Regions from separate parts of the Homo sapiens genome. Here regions 2, 3, 4, 5, 6 and 7 are each linked to region 1. Evidence: promoter capture Hi-C in human tissues and cell types (Jung and others, 2019). All regions are on one chromosome and are shown on one strand. The core of a region is centred on a gene start or on the middle of the fragment in contact, and the rest is flanking DNA. Distances in the headings are between cores, read along the strand shown. Region 1 holds the start of TSR1 (TSR1 ribosome maturation factor). Region 2 overlaps SMG6 (SMG6 nonsense mediated mRNA decay factor). Region 3 overlaps SMG6 (SMG6 nonsense mediated mRNA decay factor). Region 4 overlaps SMG6 (SMG6 nonsense mediated mRNA decay factor). Region 5 overlaps SMG6 (SMG6 nonsense mediated mRNA decay factor). Region 6 overlaps METTL16 (methyltransferase 16, RNA N6-adenosine). Region 7 overlaps SMG6 (SMG6 nonsense mediated mRNA decay factor).

What was found. Contacts are between HindIII fragments. The study calls those that stand out against the background at their distance.
Region 2: a contact is called between a fragment that was not itself captured here and the fragment with the promoter of TSR1 in region 1, in 3 of the 25 tissues and cell types used here (IMR-90 fibroblasts, ovary and pancreas).
Region 3: a fragment that was not itself captured here is called in contact with the fragment with the promoter of TSR1 in region 1 in 1 of the 25 tissues and cell types used here (small bowel).
Region 4: a fragment that was not itself captured here is called in contact with the fragment with the promoter of TSR1 in region 1 in 1 of the 25 tissues and cell types used here (pancreas).
Region 5: a contact is called between a fragment that was not itself captured here and the fragment with the promoter of TSR1 in region 1, in 4 of the 25 tissues and cell types used here (adrenal gland, aorta, heart left ventricle and 1 more).
Region 6: a contact is called between a fragment that was not itself captured here and the fragment with the promoter of TSR1 in region 1, in 2 of the 25 tissues and cell types used here (IMR-90 fibroblasts and mesendoderm cells).
Region 7: a contact is called between a fragment that was not itself captured here and the fragment with the promoter of TSR1 in region 1, in 1 of the 25 tissues and cell types used here (pancreas).

The regions. Positions count from the first base shown.
Region 1 is chr17:2,334,995-2,338,073 of GRCh38, reverse strand. It overlaps TSR1 (TSR1 ribosome maturation factor), which reads left to right and starts at 1,617. Exons shown (of 15, transcript NM_018128.5): 1 at 1,617-1,743; 2 at 1,934-2,037; 3 at 2,344-2,563; 4 at 2,680-2,814. The coding sequence starts at 1,647. It overlaps SGSM2 (small G protein signaling modulator 2), which reads right to left and starts at 573. Exons shown (of 24, transcript NM_014853.3): 1 at 329-573. The coding sequence starts at 385. RefSeq lists silencers at 1-199, 230-329, 430-539, 640-949, 980-1,109 and an enhancer at 1,340-1,449. The HindIII fragment of the contact is 7,910 bases long and covers 1-3,079 here.
Region 2 is chr17:2,092,025-2,095,103 of GRCh38, reverse strand. The region is part of intron 13 of SMG6 (SMG6 nonsense mediated mRNA decay factor); the gene reads left to right. The region is part of intron 1 of SMG6-AS1 (SMG6 antisense RNA 1); the gene reads right to left. Among named protein-coding and RNA genes, the nearest start is that of SMG6-AS1, 3.8 kb to the right of the region's middle. The HindIII fragment of the contact is 3,990 bases long and covers 1-3,079 here.
Region 3 is chr17:2,111,497-2,114,575 of GRCh38, reverse strand. The region is part of intron 13 of SMG6 (SMG6 nonsense mediated mRNA decay factor); the gene reads left to right. Among named protein-coding and RNA genes, the nearest start is that of SMG6-AS1, 23 kb to the right of the region's middle. The HindIII fragment of the contact is 7,204 bases long and covers 1-3,079 here.
Region 4 is chr17:2,140,153-2,143,231 of GRCh38, reverse strand. All of the region lies in intron 13 of SMG6 (SMG6 nonsense mediated mRNA decay factor), which reads left to right. Among named protein-coding and RNA genes, the nearest start is that of SMG6-AS1, 52 kb to the right of the region's middle. The HindIII fragment of the contact is 3,350 bases long and covers 1-3,079 here.
Region 5 is chr17:2,164,400-2,167,478 of GRCh38, reverse strand. All of the region lies in intron 13 of SMG6 (SMG6 nonsense mediated mRNA decay factor), which reads left to right. Among named protein-coding and RNA genes, the nearest start is that of SMG6-AS1, 76 kb to the right of the region's middle. RefSeq lists an enhancer at 1,490-1,784. The HindIII fragment of the contact is 7,332 bases long and covers 1-3,079 here.
Region 6 is chr17:2,486,710-2,489,788 of GRCh38, reverse strand. The region is part of intron 2 of METTL16 (methyltransferase 16, RNA N6-adenosine); the gene reads left to right. Among named protein-coding and RNA genes, the nearest start is that of METTL16, 24 kb to the left of the region's middle. RefSeq lists a silencer at 352-451. The HindIII fragment of the contact is 4,023 bases long and covers 1-3,079 here.
Region 7 is chr17:2,202,784-2,205,862 of GRCh38, reverse strand. All of the region lies in intron 10 of SMG6 (SMG6 nonsense mediated mRNA decay factor), which reads left to right. Among named protein-coding and RNA genes, the nearest start is that of SMG6, 99 kb to the left of the region's middle. The HindIII fragment of the contact is 6,435 bases long and covers 1-3,079 here.

The sequences.
Region 1 (3,079 bases), core at 368-2,867:
GAATGGGCAGCTCCGGATCCAGCCATCCCCGCCATCGCCGCCACCCCTCCCCCGGCCTTGGGCTCCCAGCGCCGCTGCCGTCACTGGGCGGGGAGCTGCGGGGCTGCGAAGCAAACAAGCCGGGAGCGCCGGCCGGGTCCCCCGGGCAGAGGGGCGCTGCCCTCCCCCATCCGAGAAAGGGGAAGGAGGCGCAGCCCGTCCAGGACCCGCCCCGCCCGGCCCAGGTTCGGCCCGGGTGCCCGCGCCGGGGGGTGGGCGCGGACCTTTCTGCCCCCTGGGCCGCGCGGGCCAGGGCGCGAGCCCCCCGGGGTTCTTGACTCGACTTTACCTCCTTCTTCACGTTCCACAGCAGTTTCTCTTTGACTGCGTCCTCTGCGCTGCCCATGGTGTGGCAGGAGGCGGCGCCGAGCGGTCCTCAGAGCCCCCGCGCCCTCGCCGCCTCCGCGCCTCTCGGCTCAGCGCCCCACGCGCAAGGCGGAGCCCCCGCCCGCCGCGCTCCCGGCCCGCCGCCGCCGCCGCCGCCGCAGCCACTGCCCGGTGCTCGGCTCCGCAGCCATCTTCCGAGCCCCGCACAGACGTCAGGCGGCAGGCCCGGCCCCTTCCCACAGCCGGAGGGGGGTTGCGCACAGCGACGGGGGATCGGGGCGGGGAGAGGCCGTGCGCGCCTAGGGGCGGCAGACCCGGGCGCGCGCCACGGGGGTCGCTGTCATGGCAACGCACCCGCTCCCGCATGGAGGGCGCGAAGCCGCATTGTGAGCGCTGGCCCTGGAGCCCGCGGCCCCGCGGCTGAGAGCGAGCCTCGGTCCCGCTGAAGCTCCCCTGACTTCTGCCTGCTCCCTCTCCCGACGGGACGGAAAGGGCCGGGGCTCGGGCATGGGGTCCCCTGCGGTCCGAGCCTGCCCACGGCGAAGCCGGTGCAGCCTGGCCCCGTGACCCCTCTGAATCCCCGTCCGGCCGTCGCCGTGCAGTTGTCAAGTTTCTGGGAAGATTAGTGGGAGCGCAGCCGCCCGAGCCCGACGGCCGGAGGGTCGCGGCCAGTCCCCCTTGCCGGGTCGCCACGTCCCACAAGGTCCTTCCCGGCCGCTCCGTGGGAGGCGGGGCGCAGGTTGGAGTAACAGGGACGGGCTTGAGCTGGTACGGAACCGGGCAAGGTGAGAGAAGTGTCTTCCACGCGATTCCCAAGCCTCGCTAGGGAATCGAGGGAGAAGAAAGGTTGCTCAGAGTGATAAAGAACATGCCGTTGCAAACGGAAGAGCAACGTGCCCGAATCTAGGTGACAGGAAGGGCTTAGGCCTTTTCGGCACGAATGGAGCCTTCCAGTCAACATGCTTCTACGTGATGCAGCTTTATAGCGCAAAAAAATGACAATGCAAGGGGTACAAACAGCCCTGCTAGACCAACAGCCCGAGCCTCGACAGTCTACATCCGGCGCCTTCAAGCCCCCAACCACACACTGCGAAGTGGGAAAAGTTCCCAGCGCGGCTTGGCGAACCCGCTAACACGGCGCTCTCACGAGCTGCTGGAAAAGACCTTCGCGAGAGGGCGCAGGGAGTCCCGCTCCCTGGAGGGCCCGCCCCCTTGGAGGGGACCGGAAGCGCTTGTCCTGGCCCGGAAGCAGTGCTGACTCCGTACACGCGCGCTGCGGCATGGCGGCCCACCGCCCCGGCCCGCTCAAGCAGCAGAATAAAGCTCATAAAGGCGGACGGCATCGGGGTCGGGGATCTGCACAGCGGGACGGCAAGGGTAAGGAGATAACGTAGAAGGAATAAGGGCTATTTGGCCGTTATTAACTCTTTTTCCTCATGCCCAGACTGAGCTTCTGTCTCCCGTCTGGGCTCCACGCGAAAGGCCCTTTCTAAGGTGGGCGGAGAGGAGTCCCTTTTCTTGACCTTGTGGGGCCGATCACACCAGCCCCTTCTAATCTGCCATTCAGGCCGTCTGGCACTGAAAACCCTAAGCAAGAAGGTGAGAAAAGAACTCAGCAGAGTCGACCAGAGGCATCGCGCCAGCCAGCTCCGAAAGCAGAAGAAGGAGGCGGTGAGAGGAGCGGGATTTGGGAGAATGCGGCTTCTCTGGTGTTCTAGGTGGCTAATGCCTCGAAGTGGAAAATGAGACCGGGAGGAGGGTCCAGGGACAGAGCATAGCCCTAGAGCACGTGTCGAGCGTGCAGGTCTAGCATTCTTTGCTTTGGTCAGAATTCCTGCCACCCCGCTGGCATACCTGTGGTCTTTTACTAGAGAGATGCTGGTTTTGGGTAGGGGGAGCATCTGTGGGAGTGGAAATGCAATGCTGGAGTGAAGTACTGAGACACTGAGATGTTCTCGGATATCTTTCTATTTTCAGGTTCTGGCAGAGAAGAGACAGCTGGGTGGCAAGGATGGCCCTCCTCATCAGGTACTGGTGGTGCCCCTGCACAGCAGAATTTCCCTGCCAGAGGCCATGCAGCTGCTTCAAGATAGGGACACTGGAACAGTACACTTGAATGAATTGGGAAACACCCAGAACTTTATGCTGCTGTGCCCCCGCTTGAAACATCGGTGGTTTTTCACCTCAGCAAGGCCAGGTTAGAGTATACACCAATATTTTGTATTATGTTTGAGTAGTGGTATTTTTTTTTTTTTTTTTTAGAATAATGTGCTGGTGCCAACCACCTCTTCTTACTGTGTCTTCTATCTGCAGGGGATCTGCACGTTGTGTTAGACATGGCTAAAGTAGCTGATACCATCCTGTTCCTCCTTGATCCACTAGAAGGCTGGGACAGCACCGGTGATTACTGTCTTTCCTGCCTCTTTGCTCAGGGCCTTCCGACCTATAGTAAGTGAGTTAGCATTTATTGTGCACCTTTAATTTGTCAGGCACTATGCCTGGTATTTGATACAGGAATACAACTGATGGATCATATTCAGCTGGTGGTGGGATGTACACATATGGATTAAACTTGATCCATTGTTTACAGATTATCACTCAGGGTGTCTTTTTGTTTTTGGCTGTCCTTTGCCCAGAGAAACAAGGATATGAAGTTTGATTTCACTGTGAAATTCCTTCAGGGTAGTTCAGTGTTGGGCTTCCCAGTGATCTC
Region 2 (3,079 bases), core at 400-2,899, 240 kb after region 1:
CAGCCAGACCTGAAAGGCTTGTGTTGGCAGTGCCAATATCCGTCCTTAACCCCTGCCAATGTGGGTGGCTGCTCTAAGAGCACTCTGCAGGGGAAGCAGAATTGGACTGAAGCCCGAGCTACTGCTGCCTATAGCTTGCTCTCTGTGACGCTTTTGCCGCTGAGAATGTACCTTTCTGGTACAGCCGGAGCCGAGAGCTCTAGAAAAGAATAGTTTCTGTCCATGAAGGAACAGTTCAAGAAGAGCAAGCTTACTCTGCCCATGGAAGACCAGACTCCTATCTGGCTTTGTTTGGAACATCTAAGCTCAGGAAATTCAGGTGGGTAGAAAATACCATATTGGGGATCTTCTCATCACTACTTTCATATTGGGAGACATGAGGCAAGGATCCAGCTGGGTCTTATTTAAGAAAGATACCAGGCTGGACACGGTGGCTAACACCTATAATCCCAGCACTTTGGGAGGCTAAGGCAGTGGGATTCCTTGAGGCCAGGAGTTCGGAGTAGCCAAGAGCAGCCCGGGCAACAAAGCAAGACCCCATCTTAGAATAAAATAAGATACTGTTGGCCAAGCAAAGTGGCTCACGCCTGTAATCCCAGCACTTTGGGAGGCCGAGACAGGTGGATCACTTGAGGTAAGGAATTAGAGACCAGCCTGGCCAATATGGTGAAACCCCATCCCTACTAAATATACAAAACTTAGCTGGGTGTGGTGGCACGTGCCTGTAGCCCCAGCTACTTAGGAAGAATCTCTTGAACCCAAGAGGTGGAGGTTGCAGTGAGCTGATATCTCGCCACTGCACCGCAGCCTGGGGTGACAGAGCCAGACTCCATCTCAGAAAAAAAGAAAGAAAGTTACGTTGCAGGGTTTGCAGGGCCTCCTCAAACCCTCAACGATCCCACTAGCAAAGGCAGAGCCACCGCCCGTACCCCACTGTGAAGGGACCTCATGGACAAGGCAATTGTGACTGTATTTCTGATACATTTATTAGTGGCCCGCTTGTTCCGAAGCCCGGGACCTTGGAGCCTCTCTAGATTACTGGAGTAATGCATGCATACCTATGGTTAGGTCCGGAGTCTTTCTGAAGAATAGGGAGAGGGATTGCTGAAGAGAGGCAAGGTCTTTCCTCCCCTGCTTGGCCAGCCCAGTAGCCTGGATCTAGCACCTTAGTTCTGAATAAAATATTTCAGGCCCTGAGTGGTGGCTCGTGCCTGTAATCCCAGTGCTTTGGGAGGCCAAGGTGGGAGGATCACTTGAGGCCAGGAGTTTGAGACCAACAATATAGCAAGACCTCATCTTTACAAAACAATTTTTAAAAATTAGCCAGCTTCCCGCTTGAGCTCAAGAGACTGAGCCTGCTGCAAGCCATGATGACGCCACTGCAAACTCCAGCCTGGACAAATTTAAAAAAAATTTTTTTTGCAGCTTCAACAGCCAGGTAAGCATTCCAGGGCCTCTCCCCTTGGCCCTAGGCTATGTGCCAGCCCCATGCTTCCCACCTTGCCTCTCAGACTGGCTTCCAAACAGCTCAGCCATGTTAGGCAGTGCCCCTCCCACCTCTGAAGAGAGTGGAGATAAGAGGAAAAAAAAATGCCAGCTGCTCAATTATCGAGCACCTACTGGGCCCAGGCATCTCGCTAAGTATTTGATATGTATTCCCTCTGTCTTTTTTTTTCTTTTTGAGTCACGATATCACTCTGTCACCCTGGCTAGAGTGCAGTGGCGTGCTCATGGCTCACTGCAGCTCTGACTTCCCCGGCTCAAGCAATCCTCCTACCTCAGCCTCCTAGTTAGCTCGGACCATAGGTGTGTTGCACCACCATGCCCAGCTTTTTTGTTTGTTTGTTTGTTTTTGACAGACACAGTCTCACTATGTTGCCCAGGCTTGTCTTATCTTTTTTTTTTTTTTTGCAACAGAGTCTTGCTCTGTCACCCAGGCTGGATTGCAATAGAACGATCTGAGCTCACTGTAACCTCCACTTCCTGGGTTCAATAGATTCTCCTGCCTCAGCCTCTTGAGTAGCTGGAATTACAGGAGCCCGCTACTAACCCAGCTAATTTTTGTATTTTTAGTAGAGATGGGGTTTCACCATGTTGGCCGGGCTGATCTCGGACTCCTGACCGCAGGTGATCCACTGCCTCAGCCTCCCCAAGTGCTGCGATTACAGGCATGAGCCACTGCACCCGGCCTGTATTATCTTTTAAACCTCACAAACAACTTGAGCAAACAAAGGCTCAGAGAGGTTAAGTAACTTGTCTAAGGATAAACAGCCAGGAAGTGGCAGTTAGTACTTGAACTCACGTCTGTGTAACTATGAAGCCCAGGCTCTTGTCCAACCTCCTGTATTGCCTTGTCTTGCCTCTTGCCAGAATGGCCCTGTTTTTTATACTTTATTTACCTCATTACTTCCTGTGTGTGCTTCACAACTCCCCTGTTCCCCTGGTTCTCCCTTCAGTGTGAACATCGTCTCCTTCCTAGTAGCCAAATATACGTGTACCTTTTGGGATCTTCAGTAACCCTGTCTTGGGATAGTCTCCCCACCAGCACCAGGTCTTGCCATCTGACCATTTGCCAGTTCCCACCTCCCCTTCTCTAAGAGACTTCAGCACACACCTGGTGGTTACAGGTGGGGACAGCAGGCATCTGTGCAATGCTGGCTGATTGATAATGGCCCTCATTGCCTCCTCTAAGAAGAAAACACAGCTGTTGGGACCAGACACATGGAATGGTGTGGTTGCTGTGGGTGGACCAATGATGTTAGCATTTCATCTTGTGACCCAATGACCCTTCAGCTAGCACAGGCCAACCATAGGACTACGGAGGGTTGGATCTGGACACCGGGATTAGAAATGACTGAGAAAGGCCGGGCGCGGTGGATCACTTGAGGTCAGGCGTTCGAGACCAGCCTGGCCAACATGGCGAAACCCCGTCTCTACTGAAAATACATAAATTAGCCAGGCATGGTAGTGCGCACCTGTAATCCCAGCTACTCAGGAGGCTGAGGCAGGAGAATCGCTTCAACCCGGGAGGCGGAGGTTGCAGTGAGCTGAGATCATGCCAGTGCAACTCCAGCTTGGG
Region 3 (3,079 bases), core at 302-2,801, 220 kb after region 1:
TGTGGTACTGCCGCTAAGGTCTCATCTGTATTCTTACTCAGCCTGAAAAGGGTTGAACATCAGTTGTCCTTTTTCTCACTCCAGTTCCACCCACTGTTAGACTTGCAGACAGTTTCCCAAAGTTTCTGGTATGGGGTTGCCTAGTACTGATGGATGCTTTCTTCATTTTTATTTATTTATTTATTTTTAGTCATTTCAATGGGAAACTGGAAGGATAGAAGAGAAGCATATGCTTAATGTCATTCTGATTAAACAAATCAATGTTAGTTTTGTTTTCATTTTGGGGAGTATTTTTTGTTTTGTTTTGGGATGGAGTCCCACTCTGTCACCCAGGCTGGAGTGCAATGGCGCAATCTAGGCTCACTGCAACCTCTGCCTCCTGGGTTCAAGCTATCCTCCTGCCTCAGCCTCCCAAGTAGCTGGGATTACAGGCATGCGCCACCGTGCCCAGCTAATTTTTGTATTTTTTTAGTAGAGACGGGGTTTCGCCATGTTGGCCAGGCTGGTCTTGAACTCCTGACCTCAGGTGATCCGCCTGCCTCGGCCTCCCAAACTGCTGAGATTACAGGCGTGAGCCACCGTGCCTGGCCTCAATGCTAGTTTTTAAGAAATGAGTTTCTAGCCTTCCAGATTGAAATACTTGGAAGGTCATTGTTCATTTGATAAAGGTAGGCATTGGACTTAGATTGTGCTTTCATGGGTTTATATGCATGGGTTTGTTACTTCATAACTAGTTCCACCACTCTCGTGTGACACTCAGGAGGAGATAATTTAGTGATTTCATGAAGATGCTCCTTAAGTCTTTCTGTGTTGGGTCTCAACCCTGTAGGCTGGATATTAATAGGGACCATACCCCAAAGGTCCAGGAAAGGAAAGGTGAAAATAATAAGATCTCCAGAATGGAGTAGGAGTGATGGTTTTGAGGCCATGGGTTTTAGATGATCTAGCTGTTTGCTTTCATTTGATAAGAATGCCATATAGCTCACTTGGCAGCTGTGTAAGAGAAAGCAGTCCTGATAACCCAGAGACCCATTTAAGAATTGTGTGCTCTCGTGGAGCCAGCACCCTTTCCCAAGCCGGCTTTGTTCAAGACCCAGCTGGAGAGCAGGGATGTGTGCTGTATTCTTTGTAACCCTAGTGCATGTTATAATGTTCAGGAATTGGTAAGCAAATGAGTATTCATTTAGAAATTGGGCCTTAGGCCCAGCATAGTGGCTCATGCCTGTTACCCAAGCACGCTGTGAGGCCGAGGCGGGTGGATCACTTGAGCCCAGGAGTTCGAGTCCAATCTGGGCAAATAGGCCCTATCTCTACAAAAAATAAAAAAAAAAATTGGCCAGGCATGGTGGCACACGCCTGCAATGCTAGCTGTTCACTAATCAGGAGGCTGAAGTCGCGGGGAGGATCACTGGAGCCTGGGAGGCTGGGAGATGGAGGCTGCAGTAAGCCTTGATCATGCCACTGCACTCCAGCCTGGGTGACAGAGCAAGACTCTGTCTCTTAAAAAAGAAAATAAAAGGCTGGGAACAGTGGCTCACACCTGTAATCCCAGCACTTTGGGAAGCTGAGGCCAGTAGATCACTTGAGCTCAGGAGGTCAAGACCAGCCTGGTTAACATGGTGAAACCCCATCTCTACCAAAAATACAAAAATTAGTCAGGCATGGTGACGCATGTCTGTGGTCCCAGCTACTCAGGAGGCTGAGGCAGGGGGATTGCTTGAGCCTGGGAGGCAGAGGTTGCAGTGAGCTGTGATTGCGCCACTGCACTCTAGCCTGGGTGGCGGAGTGAGAGTCTGTCTCAAAAAAAAAAAAAAAAAAAAGTTTGGAGCTCATTACACCTGGCTTTTATTGTTTGCTGTTTTGCTTTTTAATATAGCTAAAGTATGCAGATTTATTTAGCTTTAAGTTTTGTTCTCAATTCCCTAGTGGAAAAAAAAAAGCACCAAAAAAATTCAATTTTTACATTTCAATTCAAATGCAAGAACTTGGAACAGACCATTGCCTTTTATTTATTTATTTATTTATTTATTTATTTATTTATTTATTTATTTTTTATTTTATTTTTTTTGAGACAGAGTCTTGCTCAGTCACCCAGGCTGGAGTGCAGTGGCACGATCTCGGCTCACTGCAACCTCCGCCTCCCGGGTTCATGCCATTCTCCTGCCTCAGCCTCCCGAGTAGCTGGGACTCCAGACGCCCGCCACGACGCCTGGCTAATTTTTTTTTTGTATTTTTAGTAGAGACGGGGTTTCACCATGTTAGCCATGATGGTCTCGATCTCCTGACCTCGTGATCCACCCGCCTCAGCCTCCCAAAGTGCTGGGATTACAGGCGTGAGCCACCGCGCCCGGCCGACTTTTTTTTTTTTAAGAGGGAAGCGGTAATAGGAAATTTAATCAGGAAGATTTCTAAGCTTCAATTGTAAAGATACCTCCTTTTCCCAAGAGTTAGGCCTAATGAAGACTATACCTACCAGTACGGAGGGGGAGGGGATAAATCACAACTAAAGACCTTGGCACTTCTGTAAGAAATTTAAATAACAGGCAGACATATAGAGATTTGTAAATATGTACTTGCTGCCAGATAAACCACAGGGAAGATACTGTATTTGTGGTCCAGGGAAGTTTAAATATTTGTGGTCAAACTTAAAATTCAACGTAAAACTCTCATCTGTGATGGAAACTTTCCAGAAACTGCATGGAGCGGGTGTGCAAGCTGCATAAACTCTCAAAGGCCTCTCCTCTCACCAGGCTGAGCTGGAAAAGCCTGTTCTCCTTCCTTCAAACTGTGTAGCTAACAAGCCCTTCGATCAGAGAAGGAACTCCTTGATGCTCCAGCCACCACCCAAGAAACCCGCTCTAAGGACCTTTCGGGCCAGGCACAGTAGCTCATGCCTGTAATCCCAGCACTTTAAGAGGCCAAGGCCGGAGGATCCCTTGAACCTAGGAGTTCAAGGCCAGTCTGGGCAATATAGGGAGACCCCGTTTCTATAAAAAATTAGCCAGGCGTGGTGGCAGGCGCCTGTGGTCCCAGCTACTTGGGAGGCTGAGGTAGAAGGATCGCTTGAGCCCAGGAGGTC
Region 4 (3,079 bases), core at 246-2,745, 190 kb after region 1:
TATATACCTAGAAGTAGTATTGTTTGGTCATATGGTAAACTGTGTTTAACTCTTGGAGGAACTTCCACACTAGACAGTTTTCCAAAGCAGCTGCAACATTTTACATTCTCACTAGCAGCAAATGTATGAGGGTTCAATTTCCCCACATCTTCACTAACACTTATTATTTTTTTTATTATAGCCATCCTAGTGTGTGTGAAGTGGTATCTCAGTTGTGATTTTCACTTGCATTTCTCAATAACTAATGATGTTGAACAGCTTTTCATGTGTTCAGTGGCTGTTGGTATTTCTTTGGAATACTGTTCAAATATTTGCCTACTTTTTTTTTTTTTTTTTTTTTTTTGAGACAGTGTTTTGCTCTTGTTGCCCAGGCTGGAGTGCAATGGCGCAATCTTGGCTCACCGCAACCTCCGCCTCCCAGGTTCAACCAATTCTCCCGCCTCAGCCTCCCGAGTAGCTGGGGTTACAGGCATGCGCCACCACGCCTGGCTAATTTTTTTTTTTATTTTTAGTAGAGACGGGGTTTCTCCATGTTGGTCAGGCTGGTCTCGAACTCCTGGCCTCAGGTGATCCGCCCACCTCAGCCTCCCAAAGTGCTGGGATTACAGGCGTGAGCCACTGTGCCCGGCCATATTTGCCTACTTTTAAAATTGGGTTGTCTTTTATTGTTGAGTTGTAGGAGTTCATAGATAGATAGATAGATAGAAAGATTACATTGAGTTGTAGGAGTTCATAGATAGATAGACAGACAGACAGAGAGGGTCTCACTGTGTTGCCCAGGCTGGTTTTGAACTCCTGGGCTCCAGCGATCCTCCTGCCTTGGCCTCCCAAAGTGCTGGGATTACAGGCATGAGTCACCACACCCAGCCTTGAGTTGCAGGAGTTCTTTATAGATTCTGGATACAAGTCCTTTATCAGATAAATGATTTACAAATATTTTCTCCCTATGATTTGATTGTCCTTGCACTTTCTTGAATGTTTTAATTTTTACGAAGTCCAATTAATCTGGTTTATTTTATTTTGTTACTTGTGCTTTGGTGTTATAAAGACATTTTTAAACAATAAGGACTGGGAGAAGCTGGTGTGCGCCTGTATTCCCAGCCACTTGGGAGGCTAAGACAGGAGGATCACTGGAGCCCAGGCATTGGAGTCCAGCCATAGTGAGATCCTGTCCTCCCGCCAAAAACAAAAACAAAACAGAGTTTATCACCAAATATCCTCACTAAACGAAGTTTCTTCTACCTGAAGTACACACTTCAGAAAAGTATCCTAGATTCCAAAGAAATGGTAAACAGTGATTGTAACTATAAAATTGGATCAGATTGATTACAAAGGAACCATGGAGTTAAAAGCTTCCTTAGAAGACATCAGGGCCAGTCTCTTATCTAATGAAAAAATAGTCCTCCAGTTTTCTCAATGGCCTCTGCTCCAGATGCTTCCCCAGAATTTACTCTATTATGAGACAGTCACTATAAAAAGTTCCTCCTCAGGCTGAGTGAGGTGGCTTGTGCCTGTCATCTCAGCACTTTGGGAGGCCAAGGTAGGAGGAGCACTTGAGCCCAGGAGTTCAAGACCAGCCATGCAACATAGCAAGACCCTGCCTCTGCAAAAAAATTTTTTAAAAATTAGCGGGTATGGTGTGCACACCTGTGGTCCTAGCCATTCAAGTGGCTGAGGCAGGAGGATCACTTGAGCCCAGGATTTCAAGGTTACAGTGAGCTGTGATTGTGCCACTGCACTCCAGCCTGGGTGACAGAGCAAGACCGCATCTCTAAGAAAAAAAAGTTCCTTCTCAAACTGAACACAGCCTGCCTTCCTGTAATTCCCACTTAATGATTTTTTAAAAGTTTTCTCAAAATCACAAAGTCTGTTTTTTCTATATCTGACACACCTTAGTTATACTTGAAATTCTCTTTACGTTTTCTTTTCTCTAAGCTAAACAAACCAGTGCAATCAAATAGATTCTTGGCCAGTGCTGCGAAATATTATAGGACTTTATGTAATGATGCAGTGTTTAGTACTGTAATGATGGAAAGTTACTATTTCCACACCATCCTCTATGGTAGCCACTGGCCACATGTGACTTTTGAATACTTGAAATGTGGCTAGTGCAACCGAAAAACAAATCTTAATGTAGTTAAATTGAAATATCCACATGTGGCTAGTGGCTACTGTATTAAACACTGCAATTCTAGATCATTCTCCTGGCCAGATTTCTCTGTGCCATTACCAGCAGCATCAGATTCACCTGGGAACTTGTAATGTTTTAGGCCCTACCTCAGCCTTTTGAATCATAAACAGTTGAGGGTGGAGCCCAGCAGGCTCATTTAACAAGCTCTCCAGGTGATTCCAATGCACTAATACTTGAAAGGCAATTCCAGTTTGTCAAGGCTTCTGTAAAAAGCAGTGCTCAGACAAGGTCTGACATGCATGGATTTCACCTAAAGACAGCTTCAATGGCTTTTTTTTTTAATTGAATACTACTTTCTAAATATTGCATTGACTGCATGTTATAAAAATGAATACAATGTGGATATGAAGAATTTTTTTTTTTTTTTTTGAGATGGAATCTCACTCTGTCACCCAGGCTGGAGTGCAGTGGTGCAATCTCGGCTCACTGCAACCTCCGCCTCCCAGGTTCAAGCGATTCTCCTGCCTCAGCCTCCCAAGTAGCTGGGACAACAGGTGCGTGCTACCACACCCGGCTGATTTTTTTGCATTTTTAGTAGAGACAGGATTTCACCATGCTAGCCAGGATGGTCTTGATCTCCTGACCTCAGGATCCACCCACCTTGGCCTCCCAAAGTATTGGGATTACAGGTGTGAGCCATCGTACCCGGCCTGGATATGAAGAATTTAAAAAAATAAAGTGTCAGGCCAGGTGCAGTGGCTTACGCCTGTAACCCCAGCACTTTGGGAGGCTGAGGCATGCAGATCACTTGATATCAGGAGACCAGCTTAGGCAGCATGGCAAAACCCCATCTCTACTAAAAGTACAAAAACTAGTTGGGCATGGTTGCACATGCCTGTGGTCCCAGCTACTTGGGAGTTTGAGGTGGGAGGATCACTGGAGCCTGGG
Region 5 (3,079 bases), core at 199-2,698, 170 kb after region 1:
CACCTTATATGCCTTTGAGTGCAAATACTCTCTTTGTTCTATTCTTTTCTTCAGTAATTTCTGCTGTCCTGATACATTAGATCTCCATTCTTTGTCCTATATGTCACTTTTTCTGTCATCACTTTAATCTGTTTTTGCTTTTCTTCTGCATTCTAGGAAGGTTTCTCAAGTTTGTCATCTTGATATATTTTTATAGCATTGATTCTACTCTTTACTACTTCTAGTTCAGGTTTTAAGTCTTCTATTGCATTATTTGTTCTCTTACATTATATCTTATAACCTTTATTTTTTTTGCCTGCCTTTTAGTCAGTCCCTTTATATCTTTTTTTTTTTTTTTTTTTTTTTTTGAGATGGAGTCCTACTCTGTCGCCCAGGCTGGAGTGCAGTGGTGTGATCTCGGCTCACTGCACCCCCTCTGCCTCCCAAGTTCAAACGATTCTCTTGCCTCAGCCCCCCGCGTAGCTGGGATTACAGGGGCACGCGCTGCCACAAGTAGCTAATTTTTTTGTATTTTTAGTAGAGACGGGGTTTTGCCATATTGGCCAGGCTGGTCTCGAACTCCTGACCTCAAGGTGATCTGCCCGCCTCAGCCTCCCAGAGTGCTAGGATTACAGGCATGAGCCACTGTGCCTGGCCTCAGTCCCCTTATATCTGTCTTTGCTTTTTCATTTTTCATTTAGCATACTTCACAGAGTCTATAATTTGAAGAATTCAGTTGAAGGTCAGGAGCAGTGGCCCATGCCTGTCATCCCAGCACTTTAGGAAGTCAAGGCAGACAGATCACTTGAGCCCAGGGGTTTGAGACCAGCTTGGGCAACATGGCAAAAACCTGTCCCTACAAAAAACATAAAAATTAGCCAGGGTTGATGGTATTACACCTGTAGTTCCAGCTAATCAGGTGGCTGAGGTGGAAGAATTACTTCAGCCCTGGCCGTCTAGGCTGCAGTGAGCTGTGATTGTGCCACCATACTCCAGCCCGAGGGACAGAGCAAGACCTTGTCTTTAAAAATAAATTCAATTGAAAGAATATAGCAGATAGTACCTTCTTTTTCATTTGGCATTTTTTCCCCCAAAATATAATTTGTTTCTCTATTTGCGTGCTACATTCTCCTTTTTATTAATATATTGCAGATTATTTTCTTAGACCTCAGCTCTAGTTTCTACGATTTGATGCTGGTCACTTACATTTCTTTGAACAGATTAGGTAGATTCTCACTGGATACCTTCTTTGTCTACAGTAGTTTTTTGTTGTTGTTGTTGTTTTGGAGATGGAGTCTGGCTCTGTCTCCCAAGCTGGAGTGCAGTGGCGTGACCCCCCGGCTCACTGCATCCTCCACCTATCAAGTTCAAGTGATTCTCCTGCCTCAGCCTCCCGAGTAGCTGTGATTTCAGGCACCTGCCACCACGCCCAGTTAATTTTTGTATTTTTAGTAGAGACGGGGTTTTGCTATGTCGGCCAGGCTGGTCTCAGACTCCTGACATCAAGTGATCCGCCCACCTCGGCCTCCCTAAGTGCTGGGATTGCAGGCCTGAGTCACCGCGCCCGTCCATTTTGTTTGTTTCTTTGTGTTTTTGAGACAGTGTCTCACTCTGTCACCCAGAATGGAATGCAGTGGTGTGATCATAGCTCACTGCAGTCTCGACCTCCTGGGTTAAAGCGATCCTCCCCCCTCAGCCTCCTGAGTAGCTGGGACTACAGGCAAGCGTCACCTCACCTGGCTAATTATTTTTACTTTTTTATTAGAGGCAAGGCCTCCCTGTGTTGCCCAGGATGGTCTCAAACTCCTGAGCTCAAGTGATCCTCCCGCCTTGGCCTCCCAGAGTGACCCACAGATAATAGGTGAAATCCCTTGCTCAAGTATAGAGTTTGTACACATTGAATATCCCTAGTCCAAAAATCTGAAATACAAAAGACTCTAAAATCCAAAGCTTGATTTCAGATTTTCCAATTAGGGATGCTCAACCAGTAAGGATAAAGTGCAAATATTCCAAAATCTGAAACACTTCTGGTCCCAGGCATTTTGGATAAAGAATAAGCTATATTAGCAAGTCATTAACCTCAAGGGAGTGGGAAGGGGACCAAGTGGTGTGCAATGTCAATAAATGAATTTATTTTCTACATTTTCTGTTCTGTATACAGTGGAGCTGCTGTATCAGAGCTATCGCTCATGTCTAGTTTTCAGTTTTTTTTTTTTCAGTCTCTTTCATATAAATGATACTGCAGTGTCCTGTCACCTTCTTGGAGCTACCATGTGAAGAAGAAATTCTGTCATTGGGCCACTTTCCATTTAGTATGGGAATTTGCCTTAGACCTCTCTGAACTGCTGAAGCATTGCGAATGGTACTGATTCGTAGCAGTGAGAAAGCTTCCAAGTGGTGGTCTGTGTCTACCTCATGAGCTGTCGTAACCCTTTGTGGTAGGCAAAGTAACACCCCCACCCCAAAGAGGTTTATGTCTTCAATCTCTAAAACCTGTTACATGTTACCTTACGTGACAAAAAGACCTTTGCAGATGTCATCAAGGATTTTTTTTTTTTTCCTTGAGATGGAGTCTCGCTCTGTCGCCCACGCTGGAGTACAGTGGTTTAGTCTTGGCTCACTGTAACCTCTGCCTCCCAGGTTCAAGTAATTCTCCTGCCTCAGCCTCCGGAGTAGCTGGGACTACAGGCACGCGTCACCACGCCTGGCTAATTTTTGTGTTTTTAGTAGAGATGGGGTTTTGCCATGTTAGCCAGGCTGGTCTCAAACGCCTGACCTCAGGTGATCCACCTGCCTCAGCCTCCCAAAGTGCTGGGATTACAGGCATGAGCCACCGTTCCCGGCTGGTTGTTTTTTTATTTGTTTGTTTTTGTTTTTTCTTTGAGACGGGGAGTCTCACTCTCTTACTCTGTCACTCAGGCTGGAGTGCAGTGGCGCGATCTCGGCACGCTGCAACCTCCACCTCCTGGGTTCAAGTGATGATCCTGCCTCAGTCTCCCTAGTAGCTGGGATTACAAGTGCATGCCACCACGCCCGGCTAAGTTTTGTTGTTGTTTGCATTGTCATTGTTGTTTTCTGAGACAGCGTTTTGCTCTATTGC
Region 6 (3,079 bases), core at 279-2,778, 150 kb before region 1:
GGTAAGTCACTGGGCATTGCTAGGAAATCGCAGTATTCGTTTTTTTTTTTTTTTTTGAGTCTCGCTCTGTCATCCAGGCTGGAGTGCAGTGGCGTGATCTTGGCTCACTGCAACCTCCACCTCTCAGGTTCAAGCGATTCTCCTGCCTCAGCCTCCTTAGTAGCTGGGGTTACAGGCACGTGCCACCACGCCCAGCTAATTTTTTTTGCATTTTTAGTAGAGACGGGATTTCACCGTCTCTATTAAATGGCGATTACAGTTGCCTGCCACCACGCTCGGCTAATTTTTGTACTTTTAGTGGAGACGGGGTTTCACCGTGTTGGCCAGGCTGCTCTCAAACTCCTGACGTCAGGTGACCTGCCTGCCTCGGCCTACCAAAGTGCTGGGATTACAGATGTGAGCCACTGCGCCCGGCCGAAATCACAGTATTCTTAACTATGCCTGGAAAGGGCAAAGAGGTGTTTGGATGACTAGATTTTTCTTTTCTGTTAGTTGCTCTTTAGTTAGCATAGGAATGGCATTTAAAAGATCAGCCTGAAGGCCTGGCTTCAAGCTGCTTTATGCTTGTAATCACAACATTTTGGGAAGCTATTGCTTGAGGCCAGGAGTTCAAGATCAGCCTGGTCAATATAGTGAGACCCCTTCTCTACAAAAAATAAAAAAAAATAAAAAAAAAAGAATGAAAAGTTTAGCTTGATTGATCGAGGTACAATTTTTTATTTTGCCAGTAGGATTTTGGATTCTTTGGTTAACTTAGGGTTATCAGTAATGGTTGTTTCCATTGTTTCAGGATCTGTGTTTTTGTATATTACTATCTAATTGCTTATTTGACCCATGAGAGTGTTTAAAAAGTGGACATTTTCTTCAATAAGTCTTCTGTATCAGAGAGTTGAAAAGTGGGAAGGATGTCAGTACAGTACGCGAATAATAATTTAAGGCCACTTAATTTTTTTTATTGTTGTGAGAAACGCAACGTAGAATGTCCCATCTTAATCCAGTTTAAGTGTACAGTGTGTTAACCCTGTGCTTGTTGTTGTGCAGATTTCTAGAACCTTTTCATGAGTTAGACTACTTTAGATACCTTTACCTTAAAGTAGAATCATGCAGTATTTGTTGTTTTTGACTCGCTTATTTCACTTAGCTTGATATCCTCAAAGACTTATCCATGTTCTAGCACGTGACAGGATTTCCTTTTTTTTGTTTTTTTTAATTTGTTTTTTTGGTGGGTGGGGAACGGAGTCTTGCTCTGTTGCCCAGGCTGGAGTGCAGTGGCACTATCTCTGCTCACTGCAACCTATCCGCCTCCCGGGTTGAAGCGATTCTCCTGCCTCAGCCTCCCGAGTAGCTGGGATCATAAGCGCCCACCACCAAGCCTGGCTAATTTTTGTATTTCTAGTAGAGATGGGGTTTCACCATATTGGCCAGGCTGGTCTCAAACTCCTGACCTCAGGTGATCTGCCCACCTCAGCCTCCCAAAGTGTTGGGATTACAGGCGTGAGCCACTGCGCCGGGCTGGGATTTCCTTCTTTTTAAAGGCAGAATAGTATTCCATTTTGTGTATATACCACATTTGCTTTATCTGTTAATCTGTCAGTGGACCTTTAGGTTGCTTTCACCTCTTGGCTGTTGGGGTTAATGCTGCAGTAAATATGGGTGTGCAGATATCTTTTTGAGGTCCTGTTTTCAAATCTTTTGAGGTTTTTTTCATTTTTTAGAGTTGAAATTGTCTATATTTAAGGTGTACTGCATGATTTTTATTTTATTTTATTTATTTTATTTTATTTGAGACTGGGTCTTGCTCTGTTGCCTGGGCTGGAATACAGTGATGCGATCACAGCTCACTGTAGCCTTGACCTCCTGTGCTGAGTGATCCTCCTGCCTCAGCCTCCTGAGTAGCTAAGATTATAGGTGTCTGCCACCACATCTGGCTAATTTAAAATTTTTTTTTGTAGAGACAGGGTCTCTTTTTGTTGCCCAGGCTGGTCTTGAACTCCTGGGCTCAAGCAATCCTCCCGCCTCAGCCTCCCACAGTGCTGGGATTACAGGTGTGAGCTTCCACACTCTGCCCTCATTTAATCTTTAGCTGATTCCACAGTGGTTTCTAACTCTACCACTACCAAAGCAGCTCTTTAAAAGGTCTCCAGCAGCCTCATGTCACTGACTCTGATTTTCAGGGCTCCGTTGCCTTCTGAGCAGCAGGTCACTCTGCTGGTTGGTTTATCCTTCATGGATACCCTCTTGCCTTGGCCTCCTCAGCACCACACTGGAAAACTGGTTTTCCTTCTTCCACTCTGGTGTTCCTTTGTCTCCTTGTGGAACTTCCTCTGTAATGACTGTGCATACAGCTATTAAAGGAGTTTTCAAAGCTTGCGCCGCAGCTCTCTTTCCTTCGCACTTTATATTTTCTCCTTCATCGCTGTTATCCGTGCCAGGGCTTCACTTGTTTGTTTGCAAATCACTTACATGTTTATTTCTACACACCTCTTCTCTGGGCTCCATCTCCGCTTAAATGTCTCAGATGCAGCTCAGATTTATATTTCTCTTCAAAAACGGTTCTCTGCCAGAGTTACTAACTTCAGTTAGGGTGGCACCGCCTATCCTGTTGAGCAAGCTAGAACCTTGGGAGACTCATGTGAAACACAGCATCCCTTAGCTCACATATCATTTCGTTGCTAAATCTCACAGATGTTCTCTCCAAAATATCTCTAATTCCTTTCACTTTTCCCTATCTCTGCCATTGCTACCTTTATCTAGATATAGCCTTTTTTTTTTTTTTTTTTTTTTTGAGACAGGATCTCACTCTGTTGCCCAGGCTGGAGTGCAGTGGTACAATTTCGGCTCACTGCAGCCTCCACCTCCCAGGCTCAAGTGATCCTCCCACCTCAGTACCGCGCCCTACTCCCACTCCCCCGCCTAGAGTAGCTGGGAACACAGGTGCATGCCACCACACCACCACACTGACTAATTTTTGTATATTTTATAGAAATAGGGTTTCACCATGCTACCCAGGTTGGTCTCAAACTCCTGGACTCAAGCCATCCACCCACCTCAGCCACCCAAAGTGCTGGAATTACAGTTG
Region 7 (3,079 bases), core at 322-2,821, 130 kb after region 1:
TACTGCAACCTGGGTGACAGAGCTAGCATCTGTCTGGGAAGAAAAAAAATATATATACACATATATATTTATCTATATATCTGTAAGGTTATTGTTCACTTTTTTCATATACTATCTCTTGCATAGAGTCCATGCTTTAAAAAGTTATTTTAGAACTCAGTGCTGAGAAAAAGGAGTTGTTTTTCCTGAAGAATTGATATACTTATTCCTTTCTAATAATGAGAACTATACAGTTATTGGTGTTTCCTCTTTTGCTTTGCCTGACAGGAAATTTTAAGTCAAATTTTAAGTCCGTTTATGGTAGGCTGTTAATCCATGTGATTGACATTTTTACCTTTTTCTTGGTCTTGATTCTCTAATCTACTTTAATGTTATCTCATTTTATGTGATTTTGCTGTAAGTTGTCACAAATCTTTTGTGAATTGTGGTATAAAAGAGTAAATATAAAAAATTTTAATCTAGTTTAAAATTAGATACAGGCCAGGCGTGGTGGCTCACGCCTGTAATCCCAGCAATTTGGGAGTAATTGCTGTAATCCCAGCAAGATGGACGGATCACTTGAGGTCAGGGGTTCGAGACCAGGCTGGCCAACATGGTGAAACTCAATTTCTACTAAAAATACAAAAATTAGCCAGACATGGTGGTGAGCACCTGTAATCCCAGCTACTTGGGAGGCTGATGCAGGAGAATCGCTTGATCCTGGGACGCGGAGGTTGCAGTGAGCTGAGATCGCGCCATTGCACTCCAGCCTGGGTGACAAAGCGAGACTCAGTCTCAGAAAAAAAACCAAAAACTAGATACATACAGGTTTCAAACAATGTATATTGGTTTCGGTAAGTGTATTGACAAATTGACCAGTCCAGCAACTGAGTACAAATTTGGAAGGGCTATGTTACTATTAAGGCAGAGTTTTACTCTGTTGCCCAGGCTGGAGTGTAGTGGCATGATCTCAGCTCACTGCAACTTTTGCCTCCCAGGCTGAAGCGATCTTCCTTCCTAAGCCTCCTGATTAGCTGGGGTTATAGGCACGTGCCACTACGTCTGGCTCATTTTTGTATTTTTAATAGAGGTGAGGTTTTGCCACGTTGCCTAGGCTGGCCAGGAACTCCTGAGCTTAAGTGATTCGCCTACCTCGCATCCCAAAGTGTTGGAATTATAGGCGTGAGCCACCATGCCCAGCTGGAAGCATTATTATTAAAAGGTATGTCGATTCCACAGCTTCTAGGTCAGGAGACTAGCTGGCACCTTAGCACATTTCTAGTCACCTTCATTCATTGCTGCTTTCTCACTTCCTTCCTTGGCATAACTGCTTTATCTAGCTTATTATTCTCCTGACCTCTACTTTAAAACTAGATGCACCACAGTGGGTGGGGTTGGATGAAGTCATTACGTTCGCAGTTTGGTTTGGACATTGATCATGGATTCTGAGGCCTTGAGGAACCATTTTGGGATGAGTTTCTGGAGCAGAGTCAAATGAATGTGCAGATCTGGATATTCACAAGGTAACCACCAAAAAATTGTGCCTTATCATTGGTCTTATTTTTCAGTACTGACCCCTCAAAGTTTGTTTGATGACTCTAATCTTTACATTCTGGAAGCTTCCTGAAAAAGCTAACTTCTCAGAAGGCCTCCAAGAGGTCCTTTTTATTCTAGGTACCTTTCTGTCTCACCTATCTCGGAATTGTTTTATTTTTGGCGTTGTTTACAAACACTGTCAGACTTTTAAAAATCCTTAGCTGGGCATGGTGGCACATGCCTGTGGTCCCAGTTACTTCAGAGGCTGAGGTGGGAGGATTGCTTGAGCCTGAGAGGTCAAGGCTGTGGTGAGCTATGACCATGCCACTCAACTCCAGCCTGGGCAACAGAGCAAGACCCCATCTCTTAAAAAAAATCGTTCAGGAAGCCACAGAATGAAAAGAAATTGAGTTAATTTGTAAAAATGGAAGCAGAACACTTCCCTGCCCCTCTGCCTGCCCTGTCAATGGAGTTTCTCTGAATCAGGGTGTCTGCAGGCATTATCCCTCCCTAATTTTTACTTCTGGCTCAAAGTGCTCCTGAAGCTTCACGCCAGCAGAGGTGGGTTTCAAGGTGTGTGTCTGAATCAGCAGCCAAATCTCTCCTTGCTTTATTAAAAGTGATATAGCTATATTTCTCCCTCCTGACTGTTAACAGGAAAACTTCCTTCTAGATTGGCTAATGGGTATGCCTCTTAGGAAGCCTCTTTCATATCACTTCTCCTCCACAACCTTAAATAACTTTTGACACAGGACACCTCATATCTGCTGTATGGGATTCCATAGGGACTACCTGTCTTGTTTAATTAAAGACCTGCCATGCTTTTCTACTCTTCCTTTGCTTTTCCTCAAATACTGGGAGAGAGGCAAGCTTCCCAAAACGTCTGGCAAGCAGTGTAGAAGCAGAAACTCTGTCCTGCAAGATCTGCTTGTAACTCTTCCAAATGAGATGCTGGAATGGCAGGCCCTCGTTCTCCTGGGCCCCATTACTAAGGGACTCGTCCAGTGCCAGCATGCTATTCTGCTGGCAGCAGCTCTGTCCTGCCCAAGAGGGGATGTGTATTGAATAACTCTGGGCTCAGACAGTAACCTGTAAGTAACAAAAATATCAATCCAGAGACACAACTAAGGTGGAAATGGCCAAAGTGTGTTTTGACTGGCAACTTACTTATTTATTTATTTTCCAGGAAATCTATTGGAGTACCATTTCTGAAACTGCATGGGTATTTCCTGGAACAAGGGAAGCACCCATTTAGAAGTGTTTTCATTTTTTCTTGTAGAGAGTAGATGGTTTGCTGTCTTTCTTGCCAAGATGTATTGATAGAGCCCCCAGGACATTTCTTGGCCCTGGAGTCCTATATAAAGAAGAAGGGAAAGCCAGGGTGTCCTCTGGAGGGGGCCTAGCACTTCTGGAGATCATTGTCTCACCTGCAGAAGGCAGCAGCTGTGTGGTAATGCTGTACAGAGCTTTGGAATCAACCTGATGGAGGGCGAGAATTCTCTACTCAGCCACTTGCCAGCTGTGTGACCTTGATGACGAAAGTTTACTTACCGTCTCTGAGGTT